3 separate regions of the Homo sapiens genome follow, and regions 1 and 2 are each linked to region 3. Evidence: promoter capture Hi-C in human tissues and cell types (Jung and others, 2019). All regions are on one chromosome and are shown on one strand. Each heading gives the region's core, a stretch centred on a gene start or on the middle of the fragment in contact. The rest is flanking DNA. Distances are from core to core; before and after follow the strand shown. Region 1 overlaps MMP24-AS1-EDEM2 (MMP24-AS1-EDEM2 readthrough). Region 2 overlaps MMP24-AS1-EDEM2 (MMP24-AS1-EDEM2 readthrough). Region 3 holds the start of FAM83C (family with sequence similarity 83 member C).

What was found. The method cuts DNA at HindIII sites, captures the fragments that hold promoters and counts their contacts. A contact is called where the count stands out against the background at its distance.
Region 1: a contact is called between a fragment that was not itself captured here and the fragment with the promoter of FAM83C in region 3, in 1 of the 25 tissues and cell types used here (aorta).
Region 2: a fragment that was not itself captured here is called in contact with the fragment with the promoter of FAM83C in region 3 in 1 of the 25 tissues and cell types used here (bladder).

Annotation. Positions count from the first base shown.
Region 1 is chr20:35,117,823-35,122,146 of GRCh38, forward strand. MMP24-AS1-EDEM2 (MMP24-AS1-EDEM2 readthrough) reads right to left here. Exons shown (of 15, transcript NM_001355008.2): 14 at 776-897. It overlaps EDEM2 (ER degradation enhancing alpha-mannosidase like protein 2), which reads right to left. Exons shown (of 11, transcript NM_018217.3): 10 at 776-897. Among named protein-coding and RNA genes, the nearest start is that of TRPC4AP, 27 kb to the left of the region's middle. The HindIII fragment of the contact is 4,711 bases long and covers 1-4,324 here.
Region 2 is chr20:35,140,075-35,144,737 of GRCh38, forward strand. MMP24-AS1-EDEM2 (MMP24-AS1-EDEM2 readthrough) reads right to left here. Exons shown (of 15, transcript NM_001355008.2): 8 at 2,299-2,404. EDEM2 (ER degradation enhancing alpha-mannosidase like protein 2) reads right to left here. Exons shown (of 11, transcript NM_018217.3): 4 at 2,299-2,404. Among named protein-coding and RNA genes, the nearest start is that of EDEM2, 4.9 kb to the right of the region's middle. The HindIII fragment of the contact is 7,283 bases long and covers 1-4,663 here.
Region 3 is chr20:35,290,382-35,295,041 of GRCh38, forward strand. It overlaps FAM83C (family with sequence similarity 83 member C), which reads right to left and starts at 2,044. Exons shown (of 4, transcript NM_178468.6): 1 at 1,411-2,044. The coding sequence starts at 1,923. The HindIII fragment of the contact is 12,597 bases long and covers 446-4,660 here.

The sequences.
Region 1 (4,324 bases), core at 788-3,287, 170 kb before region 3:
TATTCTTCACAAAGCAGCCAAAGCGATCTTTCTAAAATACAAATCAGATCATGTCACTGCTCTGCTGTAAATCCTACCAAGGGTTCACATTCCAAGTAGAAAAAAAAACCCAAACTCTTTCCTGTGGCTTACACAAAACCCTACATGATCTAGCCCCTGCCTACCTCTGGGACCTTATCTCTTCCCACTTTTCTCCTTGCTTGCTCCGCTCCAGCCACACTGGCCTTCTGTCTACCAGATACACATTCATGGTTTTTTTCTCATTAAAATGTAAGCTCCATGAGAGCAAGGCCACTGCTGTAACCCTTGGGCCTAGCAGAGTGCCTGGCATGTGAAAGACATTCAAGAAATATCTGTGAGACTAAGCAGGACTGCTTTGTTAAGGAGTCCCAGGTTTGAATATAGGGCTATGGGACTCTGGATTCCCCTTAAAATCTATTTTAGTGTCTCACAAAACTTTTCGCTAAACTCACCTTTTCAAAGTCACCTATTCAAACAGATCAAAGATCTCCACTGTGGGAGGAATGCCAAGGGCCGGGGTCAAGATCCCAAGGAACTAATTCTAGCTCTACCTCTACTAGCTGTGAGATCTTTAGCAAGGCACTTAGCTTCTCTGTTCTTTGGTCTCCCCATCTGTAAAATATGAGCATTATGTATATCTCCAAGGTCCCTTCTAGTGCTGATATGTCAGAACTCCCAAAGCTCTACCCTTAAAGAGGCTTTTTAGCAGCAAGGGGAGACTCTTCCCAGTTCTTGGGGCCATGCAAACACTTACTGTTGCAAATCCGCACTCCACCTTGCTGATTTTTTCAATGGATTCCACAGCATCTCTTCCGAGTTCTAGGAGGGTGGGATCCCCCGTGGCACGGTAGAGGTACATTGCGCTTTCAATAAGTTCTGCAAAGTCCAAAGCAGACCCTCCTCACTCAGTGGCTGCACAGAGATGGCCTGGGGCCTCTTAGGGCCGTGAGGGACTACTCCCCTCCATATCTTGTCCATAAGGCCCCAACTAGCAGGAACACAGGATACCTCACCCAGTGCTGAGTTTCAGAGCCAGTATACCCAAAGCTTGAAGCTCAGTGGAGACCAGCATTAAGGCTGACCAGTGACTTCCACCACAAGGGAGAGAAAGGTGGCCAGGTTCTGGCATAGAGAAGGTGGCGGAGGTTGTTGCCTAATTCCCAATATCTGTTCCCCGCTTCCTCCTTAGTAGCAGGATTCCTAACTTTAGCTAAGCACAGGCTGCCTGGCTGCCAACACTAACTATTCTAACAGCTAGGTGGGATTAAGGACACCATGGCGAGCCATATAAGCCCAGAACATGAGAGAGAAATACATTTCTATCCTAATTAAGCTACTATTTTTTTTCCTGTCACTCAGAGTCTAACCTAATTCTAAAACTCAAAAGAAGAGTAAGAGCTTGGCATCATAAGGCTCGTTCTAAGATAGGATGGACCAAAAGAAAAGGCTGAGATATCCAAGAGCAGGCCAGGCATGGTGGGTGGCTCATGCCTGTAATCCCAGCACTTTGGGAGGCCAAGGTGAGAGGATCGTTTGAACCCAGGAGTTTGAGACCAGCCTGGGCAACATGGCGAGATCTTGTCTCTACAAAAATTAAAAATGATTAGCTGGGTGTGGCATGCACCTGTAGTCCTAGCTACTCAGGAGGCTGAGGTAGGAGGATCACTTGAGCCCAGGAGTTTGAGGCTGCAGTGAGCCATGATTAAGCCACTGCGGCACTCCAGCCTGGATGACAAGAGTGAGACCTTATCTCAAAAAATAAAAATTAAAAAAATAAAATAAAATAAACCACCAAACCGTCAATCTAACAAAGACGTAGTCATCAGTTCACTGTGGCCAGAAAAAGTGATGTTTTGTCTTGCCCAATTCTATGCCACAACTGGAACTTGATGTTAAGACATGAGCTCTACCTTAAGATGAATATTAGCCAACAGGAGTGGGTCCAGATGAGAATATTTATTCTAGAGATAAGGAAATCCAAAAAAAATGTGTTTATTGCTTTCAAATACCTGAAGAACTGTTGTAGAGTTGACTTCAAGGGTGGCCTCAGCTCAGTATGTTTTTCTACTTCATCCATCTTTTCTAAGAGACAGAAGAACCCCTGTCTCCTTTCTATACCATCATCTCCCCCTGACCTTCTCCTGTCCTGTTTCCTCCTGGGCTTGATCAGTGCTTCTGTCCCTTTTGGCTTATTGCTGCAAACTCTGGTTCTTATTTTATTCCGTTAATTACTTTTTTGTGACAGAGTCTCACTCTGTCACCCAGGCTGGAGTGCCATGGTGCGATCTCCGCTCACTGCAACTCTGCCTCCTGGGTTCAAGGGATTCTCATGCCTCAACCTCCCAAGTAGCTGGAATTACAGGCATGCGCCACCAGCCCTGACTAATTTTTGTATTTTTAGTGGAGACAGGGTTTCGCCATGTTGGCCAGGCTGGTCTCAAACTCCTGACCTCAAGTCATCCGCCAGTCTTGGCTTCCTGAAGTGTTGAGATAACAGGCGTGAGTCACTGCACCCAGCCTCTAGTTCTTATTTTAGAGAAAAGGTCTCTGCCTATCTCCCCAGTTCTCTCTTACTTCCTCCTCCCCTCTCCTCACAGGCCTCTAGACAATTGCTAATCTAATTGCTCATATTCTAAGGCACAGACTAGGGTACATTCATTACTAGATGAACACATTCTGTGTGTTCAAAGGCAGAAAAGACAGTGCCCTCATGGGAGGCCTCCTCTTCTGCTTCTTTTTTCGGCTTCTTCTTTTTTTTTTTTTTTTTTTTTTGAGAGGGAGTTTTGCTGTGTTACCCAGGCTAGAGTGCAATGGCATGATCTTGGCTCACTGCAACCTCTGCCTCCCAGGTTCAAGCAATTCTCCTGTCTCAGCCTCCTGAGTAGCTGGGACTACAGGCACATGCCACCGTGCCCGGCTAATTTTTGTATTTTTAGTAGAGACAGGGTTTCGCCATATTGGTCAGGCTGGTCTCGAACTCCTGACCTCAGTTGATCCACCGCCTTGGCCTCCCAAAGTGCTGGGATTACAGGCGTGAGCCACCACACCCAGCCCTCTTCTGCTTCTAGCAGCTGGTGGGCCAGTGCCCTCATGACCAGCCATCACGCTTCTCTCCTCACATGTGGGCCTCCTAAGCATGTTAGTTATTGCTTTACTTTCCTGTGCATCTGACCAACTCTGTCGAGCAGTGGTCCCCAACCGTTTTGGCACCAGGGACCAGTTTCATGGAAGACAATTTTTCCATGAACTGGGCTTGTAGGAGATGGTTTTGGGATAATTCATGTGCATTACATTTATTGTGCACTTTATTTATATTATTATTACATTGTAATATATAATGAAATAATTATACAATCCACCATAATGTAGAGTCAGTGGGAGCCCTGAGTTTGTTTTCCTGCAACTAGACAGCCCTATCTGGGGTTGATGGATGACAGTGACAGATCATCAGGCATCAGCTTCTCCTAAGGAGCACACAACCTAGATCCCTCACATATGCAGTTCACAATAGGGTTTGTGCTCCTATGAACGTCTAATGCCACCACGGATAAGACAAGAGGCGGAGCTCAGGCAGCAATGTGAGCGATGAGGAGCAGCTATAAATATAGATGAAGCTTTGCTTGCTCACACGCAGCTCACCTCCTGCTGTGTGGCCTGGTTTCTAACAGGCCATGGACTTGTACCGGTCCACGGCCTGGGGGTTGGGGAATCCCTGCTCTAGAGGAAGGAGACAGCCCAAAGTTCAGATTTGGACTTAGAGGAAGGTAAAAGCCTGCAGAGGCCTTTAGGCTAGGCTCTGTGCTCCAACACTGCTGATCAGAGAGACATATACGAAAGTACAGGGCTCTGGCCAATTTAGTGAAAGAGTAGTCCTTATCTCCTATTTGCCATTGTTTTGGGGTAGGAGGGATGACTGGATTAACGCACTCCTGGATTCCTGACAGCGGTGCCTTATGTTTTTTTTTTTTGGAGACAGGGTCTCACTCCATTGCCCAGGCTGGATTGCAGTGGCGCCATCATGGCTCACTGCAGCTACGACCACCTGGGCTCAAGTGATCCTCCCAGGTAGCTGGGATGGGACTACAGGCATGCAACACCACTCTTGGCTAATTTATTTATATTTCTTATAGAGACAAGGTCTTGCTATGTTGCCCAGGCTGATCTTGAACCCCTGGGCTTAAATGATCCTCCTGCCTCAGGCTTCCAGAGTGCTGGGATTACAGGCATAAGCCACTGCATCTGGCCAGTAGTGTCTTACTTTCCATGAATGCCTTCCTGCCAGCCTGTCCCAAATGGAACAGGT
Region 2 (4,663 bases), core at 824-3,323, 150 kb before region 3:
TTTCATATAAACAAAAGCTGGGAATGTTTATGAAGCACACACCTGCATTAAAGGAAATTCTAAAGGAAATACTTTAGAGAAAAGGTCTGAGACACGAAAAGAAAAAATAGTCAAAAAAGTGGTAAATAGGCCAGGCACAGTGGCTAAACCTGTAATTCCAGCACTTTGGGAAGCCAAAGCAGGTGGATCACTCAAGATCATGAGTTTGAGACCAGCCTGGCCAATGTGGTGAAACACCATCTCTACTAAAAATACAAAAATTAGCCTGGTGTGGTGGTGCACAACTGTAATCCCAGCTACTCTGGAGGCTGAGGCAGGAGAATCGTTTAAACCCAGGAGGTGGAGGTGAGCCAAGATCGCGCCACTGCACTCCAGCCTGGGTGGCAGAGTGAGACTCTATTTCAAACCAACAACAACAAAAAAAGTGGTAAATTTATGTGTAAATGCAAAACTTCAACAATATAGAACAAAAATTATAATGTATGGAAGGTTTAAAACAAATAACTAAAATATATAACTGTAGCATATAGGTCAGGATGTTCTCTAAGTCAGGTTTTGCATTATTCAGGAGGAGAACAAAGATTTTCATTAAATTTAGACTTTGATAAGTTATGTTTGTTAAATTTGCTTGGAAAACTATGTAAAAAGCTAGATATTGTGCATAATTTCCATATTAGTAAGAGGAAAATGGAATGGGGGGAAAACAATCTAAAGAAGGCATGAAAAAGGACAGAATAAAGGAACATAAAGAAGATGGCACAGGGCCAGGTGCAGTGGCTCACACCTATAATCCCAGCACTTTGGGAGGCTGATGGGGGGCGGATCACCTGAGGTCAGGAGTTCGAGACTAGCCTGGCCAACATGGTGAAACCCCATCTCTACTAAAAATACAAAAATTAGCAGGGCACGGTGGCAGGCACCTGCAATCCCAGCTACATAGGAGGCTGAGACAGGAGAATCGCCTGAACCCGGGAGGCAGAGGTTGCAGTAAGCCAAGATTGCACCACTACACTCCCGCCTGGGCGACAGAGTGAGACTCCGCCTCAAAAAAAAAAAAAAAAAAAAAAAAAAGAAGACGGCACAGAGAGCACAATACTGTAGAAATGAGTGCAAATATATCAGTAATTACAGTAAATGTAAATGGATTAAATGTGCCAGTTAAAGATTGTCAGAATGGATAAACAAAATATAATACACTATTTGCAAAAGATGTATCTAATCATAAAACTACAGAAAGATGGAAAGGATAGAAAAAGATACATGGGAAAATGTCAACCAAAAGAAAGCTGGTATCACTTATATTCCTATCAGAAATAAAGGTATAAGAATGACCTTCATTTACAGATGACAAACTGGGCTCAGAAGCTGGGAGACATAGCAGCAAGTACAGCCTCAAACTCAGGCCGGATTCCTAAACCAGGATTTTAGACCATGTTGTCCCTCTGCTCTCTTCTCTTTTTTAATCTTTTATGGATCATATGTCTGGAATATAAGTTTCATTGCAGAAAACATACAAAATAATGGGGAAAAATAGAACTCTGCCATCCAGAGGTGACAGCTGTTAAGTGGTCTAGAGGTTCGATGCAAATAAGGGCTGTGCTGGCTTCACAAGAATCACTGGAAGTCTGCTAAAAATACTGATTCTAGGACCCAACACAGAGATTCCAATTCATTAGGTTTAGGGTGGAGTCTCAACATCTGAATTTTTTAACCACTTGGGAGTGGTTCCTATGGGCTGCCAAGTTTGGAAGATTAATGCTGTAGATTTGCACTGTCCAATACAATAATCACTAACTACATGTGACTACTTAAATTTAATATCATTAAAATTAAATGAAATTAAAAATTCAATTCCATAGTTGTAGTAGATACATTTCAAATGCTCAATAGCTCATGTGGTTCGTGGCTACCATACTGGACAAAACACAGCTATAAGACATTTCCATCACTGCAGAAAATTGGATTGGACAGACAATAAGTTCCAAGAAGGCAAGGATCATATCTTTCTTGTTCATAGCTGTATGCCTAGTATCAAATACATATTAAAGAGGTGAGTAATCTGGTGTATTTCTTTCCAGTCTCTTAGTCTCCTGCTCACTTTCATATCTGAAACTGATGGGGAAATCCTGAGACTTCCCCACCTCACCCTCCAGGAGGGAAGAAGAGCTCTGTCGGTCAGAGGTTTTGGCCAAGGGTCCTGGCATGGTCAGTCCTTAAAATCCTATTTACCACTTCTTGGTTTACAGAGGCAACTTCACACTCTTTTTTCTTTTAAAGGTCCTAGAGAGCAGCCCTTACCTCGAATGTTTGTTTCAAACACAGAGGCGTTCACATCAATATCAAAGTCCACGCTGTCCTGGAGCACTTCAACCACTCTTTGGAATTCTGAGACATTCCCCAAAATCTGGAAATAAAAAAGAGACCTGACAATGAGGCTCTTACATGCATGGAGGCAGATTCAGAGTCTGGGATCCTATGTTGATGTGGCCCTCACTAATTCCACTTAAGACCTCCAGTTTCTGTCCTAGGATTGGTGACAGCAGAAGAAAACACTGAGAGCTAGAAATCATCTAGAGACTTCATACCAAGAGACTGGTTAAGTAAATTCCTAGGTCCCAATTAAGAGTCACGATGTTGTCATTTAAATGGACACAATATAAAGAACGCAAACTACGCATAGAAGTCTTAGGTTTTTTGTTTCGTTTTTTTGAGACAGAGTCTCGCTCTGCTGCCCAGGGTAGAGTGCAGTGGCGTGATCTTGGCTCACTTCAAACTCCGCCTCCTGGGTTCAAGCGATTCTCCTGCCTCAGCCCCGAGTAGCTGGGATTATGCACCACCATGCCCGGCTAATTTTTGTATTTTTAGTAGAGACGGGGTTTCACCATGTTGATCAGGCTGGTCTCAAACTCCTGACCTCATGATCCACCCGCCTTGGCCTCCCAAAGTGCTGGGATTACAGGTGTGAGCGACCGCACCTGGCCAAAAGTCTTAGTTTGACATTTGCAGTAGATACCAGTTGTCACCTTCAACCTTGTGGAAAACAGAACAGGTTGGTTGGCCCAAAACAAATTCATTCCTACCCTCTTTACCTCATGGCCTCCCACCAGAGGTTGGAAATCCAGAAGCTTTCTCGGCCTCCTTTGCTGCTGCAGTTGATTGTGTTACCCAGTCAATTCTGACCCTTGAGAGGTCTACTGGGGGCACTTCTGGGAAGGCTTCTGTTTTCTTAATACCAAGGGACAAACACAGCTAACATGGCTTTTAGTCTCTCTCTTTCTGCCTTGAACTCAGACTCGATTTCTGAAGTGATGGCAGCTATGTGAGACCATGACGTACTAAGCATTAGAATAAAAGCCAAAACACTAACGATACTAGAATGCAAAGCTACAAAGAGGCTGGTCTCTAATGACACAGTTGCGTAGCTGACCCAATGCTAGAAATTACCTCTAGACTTTCTTTTACTTGAGAAAATAAACCCTCTTTATTTAAACCGTTAGCCAAATGCAATCTCAATCTCTCTTCTTTTGATAGTAACATCTCAATTTACCCTCGAGGAATCACTCTTCCCCGGCAGTCACTCCTGTGGTTTGGGAGAGGCTGATCCCATCCCTCTAGCTGTGGAGTGGGTACTTGACCTGAACCAGTCCAAGTCTTTTTTTTGAGACAGGGTCTTGCTCTGTTACACAGGTTGGAGTGCAGTGGTGTGATCATAGCTCATCACAGCCTCGAACTCTGGGACTTGAGCAATGTTGGCCTCCCAAAGTGCTGGGATTACAGGCATGAGCCACCACACCTGGCCCTTTTTACCTTTCTAAGCATCAGGTTTCTTTTATATCTTTTTTTTGTTTGTGTGAGACAGGGTTTTACTCTGTTACCCAGACCAGAGTGCAGTGGTGCGATCTCGGCTCACTGCAACCTCTGCCTCCCTGACTCAAACAATCCTCCTACCTCACCCTCCTCCCTAACAAATGGAGCCACAGACATGTGCCATCATGCCTAATTTTTTATATTTTTGGTAGAGACGGGGTTTCACCATATTGCCCAGGCTGGTCTTGAACTCCTGTGCTCAAGCAGTCCTGCCGCCTTGGCCTCCCAAAGTGCTGGGATTACAGGCGTGAGCCACTGTGCCCATCCCTAAGCATCAGGTTTCTTAACGATAAGAAGGAGTAAAGGTACTAACCTCAAGAAGTTGTTAGAAGAATTAATACATGTCTGTACTAAGCCCTACAGAAACATACTAACTAGTCACTGATATTATTTCTTTATAATTTTTTTTGAGATGAAGTTTCACTCTTGTCACCCAGGCTGGAGTGCAATGGTGCAATCTCGGCTCACTGCAACCTCCGCCTCCCGGGTTCAGGCAATTCTCCTGCCTCAGCCTCTCCAGTAGCTGGGATAACAGACATGTGCCACTATGCTGGGCTAATTTTTTGTATTTTAATAGAGATGGAGTTTCACCATATTGGCCAGGCTGGTCTCAAACCCCTGACCTCAGGTGATCTGCCTGCCTCGGCCTTCCAAAGTGCTGGGATTACAGGTGTGAGCCACCATGCTCAGCCTGATACCCTTTTATTATCATTGAACATGGCCACTAGAATGTAAGCCTCTGAAAACAGGAGATGTCAAAGTCTCTGTATCCCCCATAGAGCTATGCAAGCCTATC
Region 3 (4,660 bases), core at 794-3,293:
CAGAAAGAACTGGGTTCAAACCTGGACTCTATCACTTCCTGGTGACACAGCTTTGGGTGAGTCCCTTCACCTCTGGAAGCCTCACCTTCCTCATCTGTTAAATGGAGATAATGATAGCCATGTCTCAGAGTTACAGGGAATTAAATGTGAAAATGCTCAAGACATAACAGAGCTCTATAAACATTGGGCTGCAGGGCAACGCAGCATTTCCCAAGGTCACTAGGAGTCATGACAGCCCAGTGCACGAACCTGGCTCCTGACCCAGGATAGAGGGGTCTAAATGGGGGCTGAGAAGGCGAGGCACTGGGGGATGCCCTAGTTCACAGCACAGGCCTGGCCAGGGTGGGGGAACAAGGACAGGCAGGAAGATCAAAGAGGCAGGGGTGAGGAGGACGACAGCAGCAGCCTCACTAATAACCCCATTCCTGATGCCAATCAGGCCTGGCCGTCCCCTGCCTGGGGCACAGGAAGGCTTGCCAGGGAGGCTCTGGAAGTACCGGTGGGATCCCAGCATCCTGGCTTCCCATCTCTGCAGCAGGAGCCTAACTCTCCCTCAAACCCTGCCAGGGATCATCTCGTCCATTCCCCTGGAGTCGGAGGCCAGGGCTTCAGAAGGGAAGCTGTGCTCGTGTGTGGCCAGAGCCTTTCTGGGTGCTGACCACCCCTACCTGCCCTCCCAATTCTCTTTCTCCTGAGCTCCCGCTCCCCATCACTGAGCCCAGCAGCCTCCTCTCCTCCTTCCTCCTTGGTTCCAAAGCCCAGCCCTCAAGGCCACGCCAAAGAGGCCCACACGCTGGCCCCTTCCCCTGCTTCAGGCCCAGCTGCAGATGTGGTGCAGGAGGGTAGGGGGCAACTAGGGACCTGAGCCAGCAAGGAGGGCCGGACTGGTCCCCAGGACCCAAGTCAGAGAGCCCCTGTCTCCCCAAGCCCTGAGCTCTATGTCACCATATGGACCTCCCTGGGCAAGTCCCAAGCCCCTCTCTGGCCTCAGTTTCTTCTTCTATAAGTGAAGGAGGTGACTCAGATGTTCCCCAAGGTTGGAGTTCTTAGTGTGGGGATCATAAAACTTTTTGAGAATCTGATTTAAGGCAGTGGAGCATCTTCCAAGGTAAAGATGCAGCGAGGACTCCTCCCTCCAACCTGCACCACTTCGTGTGCATTTCAGGGGATTGTGGAGTCCCTGACACCCATGCCCTGTTCTATGCTCATCCATACTATTCCTGGGTACCAAGCAGTTGCCAAGGTAAATATGGGATGTCCCCCTTCTAGGAGTTTGCAATCTAATAGTGCCAGAGGTGCTGGTCCTCATTCTGCCCCTAAGTCGCTGTGTGGCCTTGGGCTGGTCCCTTCCCTCTCTGGACCTCAGTTTCCTCCTCTGTGAGATGAGTGATGGAGAGATGAGGCCCTTACCGTGTGGGCCTGGCTGAAAAGGAAGCGCAGCAGGTCCTTGATGTTCTTGGCCTTGTCCCTCTGGAAGTGGACCACAGCCTGGGTGGGGCTGAAGCCTGTGGCCTGTGGCACCTCGGGCCAGCCCAGGTCCAGGTCTGGGGGGTCTATGTCAGAGGCCATGGGGAAGTAAGTCCCTGAGGTGACTTCAGAGAGCAGGCTGAGGCGGTCTGGCCCGGAGGCCTCCTGCCCCTGAGCCTCGCTGAGCTCAGGGCCCCCGCGCACATGGCTGGTCATGTAGTCCACATCCAGGGCGCTCAGGAAGGGCAGCTCCCGCTCCTCGGAGATGACCCGCAGGTAGGCAGCCTCACCCCGCTCCAGGAGGGCGTCGGCCGCCAGCCGAGCCGCCTCGCTGTGCCGCAGCACCAGCGGTGAGCTCTCCCGCCACCACGGCAGCTTCAGCTCTTCCACCCGGCCCCGCAGGGGTCCCGCCATGCCCTGGGCTCCCAGGACCCCAGGCCCCGGGCCTCCGAACATGCCTGCCACGCGGCTGCCTCACCCGCCGGCAGGGCCCATGGCCCGCACGCTGGGCTGGCTGCAGCAGGAAGAGGAGACCAGCAGAACCGCCTTCTGCCCGCCCGCTCGCTGTGTGTGTGGCAGGGCCCCCAAACTGTTGCCACCCTAAATCAGAGCCACGCTCCACCCTATTGCCCCTGGCCTCTGGAACCTGTCAGGTCAGCCCCACCTGTCTGCCTGTGTTGGGACTCGCCTGCCCAGGGAAGCGGCAGTGCCAGGCCCTCGGTGCACACTCCTGCCTCCCTCTCTTCCTCCCAGCAACGCCGCCCCATCCCCACCAGGCTCCCAGCAAGTCTCCAAATGCTGACTTCCCGGGACCCACAGAGGTTGAATTACAGCCAAGAGGGGCCCAGGCGACTCAGGAACACACACTCACACGCACACGCACACACACTGCAGGTGGGTGAGCGACTCAAGACACCCAGGAAAAGACATGAACACCCATGCAGATGGACACACTGACAACTGACCGATACACAGACATGGAGTGTGGGCTGACACAGACCGACCACACATTGTAATCACATCCACTTGCATAAACTCTTCACCCAAACGCCGATGTAGAGACCGGCCATGACCCCCACAACACATACCACAGTGGATAGCACGTGCCCTGGCTCAAGTCTGCAAGGCCCTGAGAGCTGAACGACTGTCACATGGAATATCCAAGGACATCAACGCTGGTCTGTCCCCCAGCCAGCCCTCTTTTTGCTCCCATAATCGTCCTGCCACTCTCCATCATCTTAACTGTGGTGCTCACAGCCCCCTGGCTCTCTCCCACCCCGGCTCGGAGCTGTCCTTCAAGAACCTAGAGCAGTGGCTCTCACCCTGACCCCAGGGGTGGTGAGAGGTGATGAAATGCAGATCCCCGGGCCCCACCCTCCTGGAAATTCTCATCCAGAAGGTGTCCGTAGGCTTCTGGAGCTTGTCTTTTTTCTTTTTCTTTTTGAGATAGGGTCTTGCTCTGTCACCCAGTCTGGAGGGCAGTGGCGCAATCACAGCTCACTACAGCTGTGCCTCAGTTTCTCTGGACTCGAGCGATCTTCCCACCTCAGCCTCCTGAGTAGCTGGGATTACAGGTGCATGTTACCATGCTCGGCTACTTTTAAAATTTTTTTAGAGATGGGATCTCACTATGTTGCCCAGGCTGATCTTGAACTCCTGGCCTCAAGCAATCCTCCTGTCTCAGCCTCCCAAAGTGCTGGGATTACAGGTGTGAGCCGCCACACCTGGCCATTTTTCTTTTTTAATTGAGACATGATCTTGCTCTGTCACCCAGGCTAGAGAGAGCAGTGATGTGATCATAGCTTACTGTAACCTCAAATTCCTGAGTTTTTAAACAAGTGCCCAGTGCACTGTGGGCAGTGGGCTAAGGCCCACCCCTGAGACATGCTGTTCCAGATGGCTGTGCTTGCAACACCCTTAACTCCAGGGATGTTCTTGGCCTGGTGGTGGCCAGACCCCAGCCTTCTTCCCCTCCTCCAGGGCTGAGTATGAAAATGGTTGGAAGGTTGTTTCAGAGAATGGGCGGACACACTGCAAGGTCAGGAGGCAAACAGGGCAGGTAGATTTCTGACCTCTGCCCCAACAAAGATTAAAGTCCTGGAGCATGTACCGTGTGTCCTTCGGAGGATGGTGAGCAGCTTTGCTCTGGGGAAGGGGGTGAGCAGGTGACAGCTGCAGCTGGGGAGCCAGGCTAGGCAGAAGCGGTCACCACCTTTCCACGGAGGCATGAGGTCCAGCGAGGATGGCGGGAAGCGCAGAAGACCTAAAGCCGTGCCTCGCAGCCTGTTTAGCACTAAGCGCACTTGGTTTATCTGGTCTGCGATCATGTCCGGAACACAGGGTCTTCTGTGTCCAAAGAACTTGACACACATATAGTGGGAGGGAGCTGGGTGGGATTTAGAGGTTCCGGAGTTGAGCTGAGCCCTAGGACCAAAGGTGAATGGGGCTAGGGCTGTGTCTTCAAGGACCCTATAAGTGAAGGGCCTGGGGGAGCATGGGGGAGCCACAGGTCAGGAGTTATGGCCTACTCCATCCCATCCCAGGTGCAGGAGCACCGGGCACTCCAAGGAGGCCCTTCCATGGGGGTGAGGAGGCTGCAAGAGGGGCAGAAGGTTGAGTAAACAAAGCCAGACCGTGGGAGGGTGATGAGCTGTGGGGGCAGCCGAGGTGGCAGGGCCATCATTAGGGCCTTATCTCCAGATTTGTTTGAAGGGGAGGACCAACCAGGGTCTTATCTGGGTGGTAGAAGTGCTCCCGGGAGGGAGGGAGGCATGTTTGCGTGTCACTGAGTTAGTTTTGTTTATCTTGCAGTGTGTATACATCTACTTCAGGTACATATCTTTGGCTCTGTATCTTTTAATTGTGGTAAAATACGCATAAAATTTGCCTTTAAAAAATAATTCGTGGCCAGACGCTGTGGCTCATGCCTATAATCCCAGCCCTTTGGGAGGCCGAGGTGGGCGGATCACCTGAGGTTGGGAGTTCAAGACCAGACTGACCAACATGGTGAAACCCCATCCATCTCTAATAAAAATACAAAAAGTAGGTGGCTGTGGTGGCAGGCGCCCATAATCCCAGCTACTTGGGAGGCTGAGGCAGGAGAATCGCTTGAACCTGGGAGGCAGAGGTTGAGGTGAGCTGAGATTACGCCACTGCACTCCAGCCTGGGTGACAGAGCGAGACTTCATCTCAA